Regions from separate parts of the Homo sapiens genome. Here region 1 is linked to region 2. The links are contacts of gene promoters, found by promoter capture Hi-C in blood cells and fetal thymus (Javierre and others, 2016). All regions are on one chromosome and are shown on one strand. Each heading gives the region's core, a stretch centred on a gene start or on the middle of the fragment in contact. The rest is flanking DNA. Distances are from core to core; before and after follow the strand shown.

What was found. Contacts are between HindIII fragments. The CHiCAGO score rates a contact against its expected background, and 5 or more counts as called.
Region 1: a fragment that was not itself captured here is called in contact with the fragment with the promoter of PGLYRP1 in region 2 in 1 of 17 cell types (M2 macrophages); the score reaches 6.6 in M2 macrophages.

What each region holds. Positions count from the first base shown.
Region 1 is chr19:46,503,102-46,509,776 of GRCh38, reverse strand. No RefSeq gene overlaps it. Among named protein-coding and RNA genes, the nearest start is that of PNMA8B, 11 kb to the right of the region's middle. The HindIII fragment of the contact is 3,443 bases long and covers 1,322-4,764 here.
Region 2 is chr19:46,018,284-46,024,421 of GRCh38, reverse strand. PGLYRP1 (peptidoglycan recognition protein 1) reads left to right here and starts at 1,369. Exons shown (of 3, transcript NM_005091.3): 1 at 1,369-1,687; 2 at 4,775-4,896; 3 at 5,003-5,269. The coding sequence starts at 1,401. The coding sequence ends at 5,184. It overlaps CCDC61 (coiled-coil domain containing 61), which reads right to left. Exons shown (of 14, transcript NM_001267723.2): 14 at 5,806-6,132. The coding sequence ends at 6,035. It overlaps MIR769 (microRNA 769), which reads right to left and starts at 5,490; the gene lies at 5,373-5,490. RefSeq lists an enhancer at 1,876-2,761. The HindIII fragment of the contact is 5,413 bases long and covers 266-5,678 here.

The DNA.
Region 1 (6,675 bases), core at 1,794-4,293, 480 kb before region 2:
ACCCAGGAGGCGAACCTTGCAGTGAGCAGAGATCATGCCACTGCACTCCAGCCTAGGTGACAGAGCAAGACTCTATCTCAAAACAAACAAACAAACAAAAAACAATTTTACTACAGTCCTTCCAACACTTTATTACAAAAACTTTCAAACATAGAGCAAAGTTGAAAGATTTCACAACAAGCGCCCCTATCCCCACCTCCTAGATTCTACCATTGACATTTTATCATGCCTGCTGTATCACAGGTGTGGCTGTATCCCATATCCATCAAGCCATCTTTTCTTGTGCATTTCAAAATAAATTATAGATTATCTGTCCACTGCCCTCTTAATGCTTCATATCATTAACTAAGGTTTAATATTTGTTCTTTTGAGAGAAGAATGTAAAATACACACAATAAAATGCACAGATCTCAGGTATAAATTCACTGAGTTTTGACAAATACATACCCCTGAAAAACCAAATGCCTGTCAAAATACAGAACTCAGGCCAGGTACGGGGGCTCATGCCTGTAATCCCAGTACTTTGGGAGGCCGAGGCGGGAGGACTGCTTGAGTCCATGAGTTTGAGACTAGCTTGGGCAACATGGCAGAAGCCTGTCTCTACAAAAACATACAAAAATTAGCTGGGTGTGATGGTGTGCCTGTCATCCCAGCTACTCAGGAGGCTGAGGTGGGAGAATTGCTTGAGGCCGGGAGGCTGAGGTTGCAGTGTGAGCTGAGATCGCTCCACTGCACTCCAGCCTGGGTGACAGAGTGAGACTCCATCTCAAAAAAAAAAAAAAAATACCGAACACCCCATCATCCCAGAAAGTTCCTGCATGTTCCTTTCCAGCCAGTCCCCGAACTCCAGAGGCAAGCACTGCTCTGATTTTTTTCCACCATAGGTTATAGTTTTGCCTGTCCTAGAATGTCATACAAATGGAATCATAGAAAGATGTATGCTTTTAGCTAAGTGCGGTGGCTCACACCTGTAATCTTAGCACTTTGGGAGGCCGAGGCGGGTGGATCACCTGAAGTTGGGAGTTTGAGACCAGCCTGACCAACATGGAGAAACCCCGTCTCTACTAAAAATACAAAATTAGCCAGGCATGGAGGTGCATGCTTGCAATCCCAGCTACTCGGGAGGCTGAGGCAGCAGAATTACTTGAACCCAGGAGGCGGAGGTCGTGGTGAGTTGAGATTGTGCCATTGCACTCCCACCTGGGCAACAAGAGCAAAACTCCCATCTCAAAAAAAAAAAAGATGTACACTTTTGTGTCTTGCTTCTTTACTCATGAGGCTATCTTGAACTTAAACCAGGGTCTTTTTCCAAGGAAAAGCTTTTTCTGGCATTGTCCATCTCTTGACTAATTCCTTCCTTCTCAGGCCGGTGTCCCAAGGGTCCAGTCATGCAAACTATTTGAAAAACTAAAGACTTTTTTATGTGGTCCCCTGGGATACTCTGGTCTTTGGAGACCTCTTCATTCCTTGTCTTAAAGCAGACCCTGGTCAACTTGGGTCACTAGCTGTTTCCTCCCAGGAGTGGTGTTTTTTTTGTTTTGTTTTGTTTTGTTTTAACGGAGCTTCCCTCTTGTCATCCAGGCTGGAGTGCAGCAGTGGCACGATCTTGGCTCACTACAATCTCCACCTTCTGGGTTCAAGTGATTCTCCTGCCTCAGCCTCCTGAATAGCTGGGATTACAGGTGCCCGCGCCGTGCCCAGCTAATTTTTGTATTTTTACTAAGACGGGGTTTTACCATGTTTGCCAGGCTGGTCTCAAACTCCTGACCTCAAGTGATCCGCCCTCCTCGGCCTCCCAAAGTGCTGGGATTACAGGCGTGAGCCGCGGGGCCCCGCCCCAGGAGTGGGTTTTATCCCTTGGGACCTTGATTTTGTTTCTCACAACCCCTCCGGCCCCCCAGAGCCATTACTCGTCCTACAGCACCTCATGTGTCTCCTCCTTGGTGCATGTCACATCTTACTGAATGCTTGCTTTTATTGTTTTTCATTTGTGTGTGTGTGTGTGTGTGTGTGTGTGTGTGTGTGTGTGTGTTTTGAGACAGAGTCTCATTCTGTCGCTCAGGCTGGAGTGCAGTGGTGCGATCTCAGCTCACTGCAACCTCTACTTTCTGGGGTTTAAGTGATTCTTCTGCCGCAGCCCCCTGTGTAGCTGGGATTGCAGGCACCCACCATCATGCCCGGCTAACTTTTGCTTTTTTAGTAAAGATGGGGTTTCGCCATGTTGGCCAGGCTAGTCTCGAACTCCTGACCTCAGGTGATCCACCGGCCTCGGCCTCCCAAAGTGTTGGAATTACAGGCGTGAGCCACTGCGCCCAGCCCAGCTTTTTGTTTTCTTTTGCAAATAGTGGGTTAACATTTTTTAGCATTTTCTAAGGTGGAACATGATGAGGCTTGACTAAGGTTGAAATCCATATTTCATGGTCCGCTCTAGTGTGAATGGAATCACTGATACACTTCATCCTATATCTTGCTTCTCTGCAACAATAGAACATGGCCAGTTGCCAGGAAATACATTGGGACCCAGCTCACTGTTTTTCATCATCACATGAAAATCCACAGAAAGTCTGTGAAGTAATTTATTCACTCTTTTCATCATTATGAATTCGTAGTTATTAGTGGTTCATATCTGATCTCCCTATGATGTCAGCCAGGCCCTGGTCTGATGTAGTCACAGTCATATCCCACACGTGTGGGTTCTTTGTGTTTGCTAAATGATTAAATGAACAAATGAATGAATGAGTGCTGAGGAGGGATGGTGCTGCTGAAAGTCTGCCTAGTATCCCTGTTAGAATCAGAGGTTTGGAGCCAGACACGGTGGTTCACGCCTGTAATCCCAGCACTTTGGGAGGCCAAAGCGGGCAGATTATGAGGTCAAGAGATCGAGACCATCCTGGCCAACATGGTGAAACCCCGTCTCTACTAAAAATACAAAAGTTAGCTGGACGTGGTGGCAGGTGGCTGTAATCCCAGCTACTTGGGAGGCTGAGGCAGGAGAATCACTTGAACCCAGGAGGCGGAGGTTGCAGTGAGCCGAGATCACGCGACTGCGCTCCAGCCTGCTCACAGAGCAAGACTCCATCTCAAAAACAAACAAACAAACAAACAAAAGAATCAGAGGTTTGGAGTCACAGAGACCTGAGGTCAAATTGATGTCTCACCACTTCCCAGTTGTAAAAGACCTTCCACCCTGCGTGTGTGTGCACACACACACAGCCTCAGATTTCTCATCTGGGAAATAGAGATAATAATGGGGCTGGCTTTACATGACTGTGGTGAAGATTAAATGAAGCAATATATTAAAGGCTATTCTAGCCAATGTCTGGCATAAGATCATCCCTTGGCATGGTGTGTGTGATGTTATAATTCCTCCTTTCCTTTCTTCCTCCATCTGTTCAATACAAGATTTACTGAGCACCATGTTATACTATCCTCTTTGTATTATAGAAATGTTATTCACATTTAACAATATATTATTGGAGCAACAGAAAGAGCTAAAATACCTTTAGGAATTGCATTGGGCTCTGTTCAAAAAAGTCAACAATTAGCCGGGTGCGGTGGCTCACGCCTGTAATCCCAGCACTTTGGGAGGCCAAGGCGGGCGGATCACAGGTCAGGAGATCGAGACCATCCTGGCTAACACAGTGAAACCCTGTCTCTACTAAAAATACAAAAAATTAGCCGGGTGTGGTGGCGGGCGCCTGTAGTTCCAGCTACTCAGGAGGCTGAGGCAGGAGAACGGCGTGAACCCAGGAGGCAGAGCTTATAGTGAGCCGAGATAGTGCCACTGCACTCCAGCCTGTGCAACAGAGCGAGACTGTCTAAAAAAAAAAAAAAAGTCAACAGTTGTGGTGGTAAAAGCACAAACAGCAATGAGAAAATGGGAAAACACTATGAACAGGATATTTAAAGAAGGGGATTTCCAAATAAACTAAAAAAGAGATGTGCAAACTCATTTGTAGTTGGAGAACAATGAGCTACCACCTTATGCCCATGAGATGGGCAAATCCTAGAAGCCTGGACAATCTCCAGAGGTGGGAGTGGGCACTGGGGGCACAGGAATCCTCATATGTGAGCAAATAGGGACATTCATTGCACTGAGTGACTTGTAGGACTTGGTAGAGTTAGGAATACGCAGACCCTAGTCAGGCGCAGTGGCCCATGCTGTAATCCGGCACTTTGAGAGGCTTAGGAAGGAGAATTGCTTGAGCCCAGGAGTTCGAGACCAGCCCAGACAACATAGTGAGACCCTATCTCTACAAAAATTTTTTTAAAATAAGCAAGACGTGGTGGTGCATACCTGTAGTCTCAGCTACCCAGGAGGCTAAGGCAAGAGGATCACCTGAGTGCAGGAAGTCAAGGCTGTTGTGAGCCATGATGGCTACTGTCACTCGGTGACAAAAATAAATAAATAAATAAAGGAATATGCAGACCCAAGCAATTCTGCTCCTGGGACCTATGCCAAGGGCAGTCTCAGTGTCTCATTCTCATTCAACATCATAAGAAAATGTGTACAAGAACATTTATGGTAGAGTATTTGTGCTGTGTGTATGTGGGAGCAGGAGATGGATCTGGGTGTGCACTGGTTACTTTCGCTGTGTAACAAACCAACCCTCACTTAGTGTCATAAAGCAGCAACATCTCATTATGCCCATAGATTCCATGGGTCCATAGTTATGAAAGGGGATGGCTTCTTTTGGCCCCATAATGTGTGGGGCCACAGCTGGGATGACCCCAATGGCTAGGGTCTGGAATCATCTGGAAGCTTCATCACTCATATGTCCGGTGCCTGGTTTGAGATGATTTGAAGACTGGACTTAGTTGGAGCTGTTGACTTGAGCACCTACATGCAGAGCTCTCCATGTGAGTTGGGCTTCCTCACGGCATGGCAGCTAAGTTCCAAGCAGTAATTATTCCAGAAGAACCAGGCAAAAGCCTTTTATAACTAACCTTGGAAGTCACCTAGCATCCAGCTAACCTTGAAAGACACAGAGCAAGTGGATGTACACTAGCAGTTGAGGTAGTCACAAACTCACCCAGATTCAGCTTCAAGGAAAGAGGAGGTAGATCTCACCTCTCAGCAGAGTTAAAGAACTTGCAGCAATGTTTAACAACCATGCAGCCCCATTCAGCAGGTGAAATTACCAGCAAGATACAGAACTGGGATCAATCTTAGACACGTTACTGCTGAGTGCTAAAAAAAAAAAAAAAGAAAGAAAACCGCACACACACACACACACACACACACACACACACACACACACACACAAAAACCATGAGAAACAAAAAGAGATAGATCATGGAAAACAAGTTATGCAAATTTAGCCTAGATGCCCCCAAACAGCAATGCACATTTTGCAGGAACACATGAAAATAAAAGGACAGCCATCACAAAATGAAAAGTGAAAAGGAATGGGAGAGGGGGATGAAGATAAAATGGCATTTCTAAGACGTGGAGGCAGGCGGAGTTGACAGCTCCTTGGATGTAAACGTGTTGAAAGGCAGACCTGCCATTCGTCACCCTCCAGACACACGGGAGGTAAATTGATTTTGTGTTGAGGATGTGCTGATCTGGTTTCCCTGGCAACACTGCTCTGAGGCGAAAAGAGAGGAGCAGAAAGACAACGGAGGGGAGATGGGAGATGAGTCTGCAGTGCACCTAACTCCCATGATTCAACTGTAACTTGCTGGAGAAACACGCACACACACACATGCACACACACACGCACACACACATGCACACACACACGCACACACACACATGCACACACACACGCACGCACACACACGCCCGGCTGAAAAATATGGTTTTTCTGTTTTGGGCCCTAGGGAACATTGTGTTATATTCTCGAGTATGTATATTCTCCAACGATTTGGTCTCAGGACCTCTCAAATTATTAAGAATTATCAAGGACCCTAAAGAGCGTTTGTTTATGTGGGTTATATGTGTCGATATTTACTCTATTAGGAATCTCTCCTGATAAATTAAAAGAATATGGTATTTGTTAACCCTTTCAAAAATAGTGAGCCATGATTGAGCCATTGCACCCCACCTGGGTGACAGAGTAAGACCCTGTCTCAAAAAAAAAAAAAAAAAAAAAACGAGAGAGAGAGAAAAGAATAGACCCTGAGCCCCAGGCCCCGTGCACGTAAGATCTAACGGTGACCAGCCAAGTAGGGCCATCTGGAGCCTGAAAATCTCCTGCCTAGTAACAAACATGTTACACACTCATGTAGATAACATATATAAATAGGTTTTTTTTTTTTGAGACAGGGTCTCACTCTGTTTCCCAGGCTGAAGTGCGGTGGCACAATCATGGTTCACTGCAGCCTCAAACCTCCCAGGTTCAAGCAATTCTCCTACCTCAGCCTCCCCAGTAGCTGGTATTACAGGCATGGGCCACCACAACTGACTAATTTTTCTCGTATTTTTTGTAGAGATGGGGTCTCCTTATGTTGTCCAGGCTGGTCTCGAACTCCTGGGCTCAGGCAATCCTCCTGTCTTGGTCTCCCAAAGTACTGGGATAACAGGTATGAGCCACCTTGCCTAGCCCTAAAAATAGATATATTTCCCAAAACAAAACAAAGTTAGTGAGAAGAGTGGCACTGTAGTATTTTGGTGTTTTTCAACTCACTTTGATATCTGGCTCAACAATCCTTGACCTGCCTCCTGGTTCA
Region 2 (6,138 bases), core at 120-2,619:
GAATAAATTAGAATTAGATGTACTGCCCTGGTGAGATGCCCATGAAATATTAGGTGACAAAAGGTAAATTGATGCACATGGTTTTGATTTTTTTTTTTAATGTCCTTATATAAGTTTGTAGGGAGGAGAATACGGTTTATAACTCTGCAGGCAGAAAGCCTGTAGCCAAACCCTGGCTTCATCACCTCCTGTATGTGATCATCCCCCCGGGCCTCAGTTCCGTCAACTGTAAGAGGGGTTAATAATAACATGGATCTGGCAAGCTTGTCGTTGAGTATATGATAATTTCTGAAAAGTGCTACAGATGCCTGGTGCACAATTCAGTAACAGCATGAGTACAATGTATATGAGAAGGCAGAACACAGAAGATGAAAACACACCACACAGGTCAGGCACGGTGGCTCATGCCTATAGTAATCCCAGCACTCTGGAACACTGGCAGGTGGCTCACCTGAGGTCAGGAGTTCGACACCAGCCAGGCCAACATGGCAAAACCCCGTCTCTACCAAAAATATAAAAATTAGCTGGGCGTGGTGGTGTGCACTTGTAATCCCAGCTACTCAGGAGGCTGAGGCAGGAGAATCACTTGAAGCCAGGAGGCGGAGGTTGCAGTGGCCCAAGATCGCACCATTGCACTCCAGCCTGGGTGACAAGAGCAAAACTCCATCTCAAAAAAAAAAAAAAAAAAAAAGGAAAATATTATTTATAAAATAGAAAATTAAAAAAAAAATTTTAAATACACATTTTTAAAAACCACTTGCAGGCTCTCACACACTGCATATCCAGGATTCACATGCAGGCAGCCTGGCTCTAGACGCGGGGCTCCAGTGCCTCCGGTGTCTCAGCCCGTGACTTCCCTGCTCTCAACCTCAGTTTACTCCACTGTGAAATGGACTTCCAGATACTCACCTCTTGAGTTTGCTGCAAGCGTAAATGGCATCAGGCTTGGACCTGGGGGAAGGAAGTGTTTTTAAAATGGGTAGCTTTGTTACCTCAGTCCTTGCGGGGAGAAGATGTGCCAATGCCCCGGGCCTCTGCGATGTAAGTTCCTGTTGAGTTGTTCAATGTTCCACTGAGAGGAGAGACAAGCAGGACCGGGATCCCGGCCCCGGGTCTTCCAGAAACGGCGGGGCGAAGCGCCCAGGGGCCTGTGCGTCCCTCCCTGCTGAGCGAGGGGGCCTGTCATTGCCGTGGGCGTGACCCAGACCCCAACCACAGTGCATCCCGCCCTGGCCCAGCCAGAGAAGGAAGCTGAGTCTGGGGTCTGCTGGGCCAGCAGGAAGTCCCAGCAGGGTGTGAAGCAAGACTTTCCGGGCCACTCCTGGAATCCCCCAGCAGATAAAGGCGGCCCCTCCACCGGGCGCTCCTAGCGGTCTCCCGGACCCTGCCGCCCTGCCACTATGTCCCGCCGCTCTATGCTGCTTGCCTGGGCTCTCCCCAGCCTCCTTCGACTCGGAGCGGCTCAGGAGACAGAAGACCCGGCCTGCTGCAGCCCCATAGTGCCCCGGAACGAGTGGAAGGCCCTGGCATCAGAGTGCGCCCAGCACCTGAGCCTGCCCTTACGCTATGTGGTGGTATCGCACACGGCGGGCAGCAGCTGCAACACCCCCGCCTCGTGCCAGCAGCAGGCCCGGAATGTGCAGCACTACCACATGAAGACACTGGGCTGGTGCGACGTGGGCTACAAGTGAGTGTGGCAGGGGGGCACGGGCTGGACTGGGGATCCCAGAGGCAAAGGTGTGCAAGTGCCCGCCAGCGGGACCATTTCTAGGCCTGGTGCTGAGGCCACCTGGCTGACACCCTGAGCAGCTTACTGAACCTCACAAGGTCATTTCTTCCTCGGGTCACCACGTGGGCCGGGGCAGGTGCTCACAGCACAAAGATGCGTGAGAAGGGGGGATGGGCTGAAATCCAAGCCCCGCTCCCGCTCCCGGGAAGAAGGGGCAGGCTTTGCCTAACACACACCAAGGTGTCCGCGACGCCTTATGAAGGCGCCCCTTCCTGATGCCTGGTGCCTTTGTTAGGAGGCGGAAAACCAGGCTGACTCAGTGCGGAGCTGGGTTCCAGGGTCAGCTCATCTTATTGCTGGCTGAGGCCTGGGGCGGGTCCTCCCGGCTTCAGCTTCCTCCTCGGCAAAGTCAATGGAATCGCGGCCCATCTGCTCCTTATATGAGCCAATACAGGCAAAGCACCTAGGAACTGCCTGGCACACGGGGGCCCGCAAAGCCACGGGCTATTACCATTAGGCACCTACTATGTGCCAGGCAGTGTGCCAGATGTGGCATGGAGAACGGTGCCACTCTAGCCTCCTGGGGTTGAAAGACCAGCAGGGAGAAACAAGCCAAGGCCACAGGTGAATTCAGACGGTGATAGAGGCGATGGATAAAAGGAAAGAGGTGAGGGAGGGTGACCTCAGGCTGGGACCAGACCCACACAGGCTCCTTGGAAGGGTGGGGCAAGGGAAAGCCTCCCTGAGAGTGGCTGCCTTGGCTCTGGGATGGGGGAGCAGACAGAGGCCTGCAGGTGGCAGGGGGTGCTGGGGGCAAAGCCAACGGGGTTGAGTGGGCGGGTCCTGTGGGAAGGACAGGGTGGCTGAACACAGCCGGGCGAGCGGAATGAAATGAGGAAAGGGCAGGACCAGGCAGGGCTTTGTGGACCACAGTGAGGACTGTAGCTTTTACTCCGAGATGGGAGCCATGGGAGGCTTCCCCCCGCAGAGCAGGGACCAGGGCTAGTGTAGGTACAAGAGACTCCCTCTGGCTGCTGTGGGGAGAACAGACTGTAAGGGGTGCCGGCTGAAGCAGGCTGAAGCAGGTCCGGGGCCACGCCTACCAGCTACCTCCTCCTTAGAATGGGCTGCAGTCCAGCCTGACGGTTTCCACAGGGAGGGAACTTTCAATCCTGCAGGCTCTCAGACCCAGGTAAGCATCAGAATCTCCTGCAGAGCTTATTGGAGGAACATGCAGGTCCCCAGAGACCACTTCAATAGACCCCACCCAGGGGACACATGTTCTCAGGACCTCCTAAGGCTGTGTCTCACACACACACACACACAAAACCCACCCAGAGAAGTCTAGAAGTGTCCAAAGGTATTCCCAGCCCTTCCAGTTCAAGATTTTATCAAAGACTCCAACTTCAACATTTTGTTTCCAAGACTCAGGCGCTCTGATCCTAAGTGTTCCCATGAGGTCACGAAGGCCCGAGCCTCGGGTCCACATCACCACATACAGAAGCAGCCGCTGTCTGGCCCTCAGCTTTTAGGATTCCGAATCTGGTTCTAACGTTCTGAATCCCCTTTCCATGTCACGTCACCTTCTCTCTCTGAGCCTCGTTTCTTCACCTGTAAATGGGGCTTCTGACTGTACCCGCTTGGCGATGGTGGCTGAGGTTTCAATGAGATGCATTCATGCAACAAATGACCAGGGAGAACCAACCACCCCCGACCCCAGCACCATCATGCCAGGCTCCGGGAATATGGCAGGGCCATAACCAGCCAGTCCCAGCAGCCAGCATCACCAGCAGGGCCATAACCAGCCAGTCCCAGCAGCCAGCATCACTGGGGCCAGATTCTGGGAGCTGGCTTCCTAAGCAGCAGATTCGGGACTCAAGATTCGGAAGTTCCGACATTCTGTGCGTCATTAATGACACTGTGAGCGCGGGGGCTGAGTTGGCACATACTGCAGCTCCAAGGCACTGATCTTCTAGTTCATTCCCATTTGCCAAGTCAGACACGCTCAATCAGATGTGCTGAATGAATCAGCCTTAAGGATCTGCTGCCAGGCTTGGGAACCTCAAAGAGGCAGGTGCTGGGGCTCCAGGGTCGGTATCTGGTTACGACCCCAACTTTGAGTCTGTGATCCTGTCCCCCAGTGGACCCCGAGGGCAGGAAGCAAGCTGGGGCAAAGGCAGAGTTCTGAGAGGCAGGGGGCTCTGAGTAGCTTGTACAAATTATGTCGCTTTCTGAGTCTCTGCTCTCTCTGCTTAAGATGAGGATGATAAGAGTCCCTGCCTTGGCTGGGCACGGTGACTCATGCTTGTAATCCCAGCACTTTGGGAGGCCAAAGGCGGGCAGATCACCTGAGGTCGGGAGTTCGAGACCAGCCTGGCCAACATGGTGAAACCCCATCTCTACTAATAATACAAAAATTAGCCGGGTGTGGTGGCTCATGCTTGTAATCCCAGGTACTCAGGAGGCTGAGGCACGAGAATCACTTGAACCCAGGAGGCAGAGGTTGCGGTGAGCTGAGATCACGCCACTGCACTCCAGCCTGAGCAACAAGAGTGAAACCCCGTCTTAAAAAAAAAAAAAAAAAAAAGTCTCTGCCTCAGAGGGCTGTCCTGCAAGGATTCAGTAAAACAGGACTTCCACAAATCCTCTAGGGAGGCAGGAGAGAGCAACGCACAAGATCACATGGGTGGGGACCATGGAGGCCTGGTTAAAAACCCCAGCTGTGCCCCAGACAGGCTGTGTGACCCCGGGGCAGGTGATTCTACCGCTCTGATTCTGTCTATATAAAACGGGGGTGATAGTGACTCACAGGGTTGCTGTGAGGATGGAAAAAGGTGTATGCAGAGCTGTGCTTGGCACATGGCAGGGGCCCAATAAATGACCACAGTCATTGTTACTATCGTGGGAAATTAACGGGTGAGAAGGATGCTGGGGAAGTTGTGTGCACCACGGCAGTAACGGAGGCAGGGTGAGTGGAGGAAGGAGGAGGAGTCCTCCTCGGGAAACCCTCCCTCACTCATCAAGCCCCCCCACCTCCCCATGCAGCTTCCTGATTGGAGAAGACGGGCTCGTATACGAGGGCCGTGGCTGGAACTTCACGGGTGCCCACTCAGGTCACTTATGGAACCCCATGTCCATTGGCATCAGCTTCATGGGCAACTACATGGGTGAGTGACTGTCCAGCCAGTTGGGATGGGGGCTGACACGGGGCCCTACGCTATCACTTCCCCTTCGGGGAAGCCCCTGCCTGACTCCTACCTCTGCCTCCTCCAGATCGGGTGCCCACACCCCAGGCCATCCGGGCAGCCCAGGGTCTACTGGCCTGCGGTGTGGCTCAGGGAGCCCTGAGGTCCAACTATGTGCTCAAAGGACACCGGGATGTGCAGCGTACACTCTCTCCAGGCAACCAGCTCTACCACCTCATCCAGAATTGGCCACACTACCGCTCCCCCTGAGGCCCTGCTGATCCGCACCCCATTCCTCCCCTCCCATGGCCAAAAACCCCACTGTCTCCTTCTCCAATAAAGATGTAGCTCAAAATGTGTTCCTCAGCAGGTCCCACCACACACCTCCCCTCCTTCTCTCCCTCCCACAAGACCAAAGCCCTCCCACCCCTTCCCCTCCCAGCACTCTCCTCACTGGTGCTTGGAACCCAGAGGCCCCGGCCCTGAACCAAGACCCCGGAGATCCCAGCTCGAGAGCAACATCACAGCTCAGAACCCAGAGGTCTCAGGTCAGAGCCCAGGAATCAGCACCAAGGCGGCCGGGATGTCACCAACAGTGGGTCCTGGGGGTCCTCCTGGGCAGTGAACCACGCTGCAAGACACCTCCTTCCCACCACACAGCCAAAGGCATCCTGCGCAGAAACTTTGCTTGGACTCCTTTAGGGACGGGCTGCTCACTACTCCTCCCAGGTCTGCCCTTGCACTGTTTAGAGAGTGTACAAGCTTTTCCTAGGCCTGAGTCCCAATCTGCCTCCGAGGCACAGACACACAGGTCCCAATTATACCCCCCAATTTCTCTTCCTCCACATTTCTCCCCACTCCACCCTCACCCTTTAGTCATAAGCTGAGGGGTCCCCAGGGCAAATATGTTTATTTACAAAATGCACACATCCTCCCTCCCAGCATGCACTGCCTGGGGAGAGGGCAGGGTCAGGGCCTCACACACCTGAGACCCCAGGGGCAGCAGGAGGGACGGGGCCAGGGCAGGGACTGGGCAGGGCTGGAGGCCACCCTGGCCCCACCCCCCACACCATACCCAGCAAGTGGGTGGGGGATGGAGGGGTAGTACCCCTTCTCCACGTTATGACCGCATGTCCAGTCGGTTCATGTACTCCTGCAAGGCCTTCAGGCGTGCGTCTATTTCGGCCATGTCAGCCGCCTGGTGCTCCGAGCTGTACTCTGTGA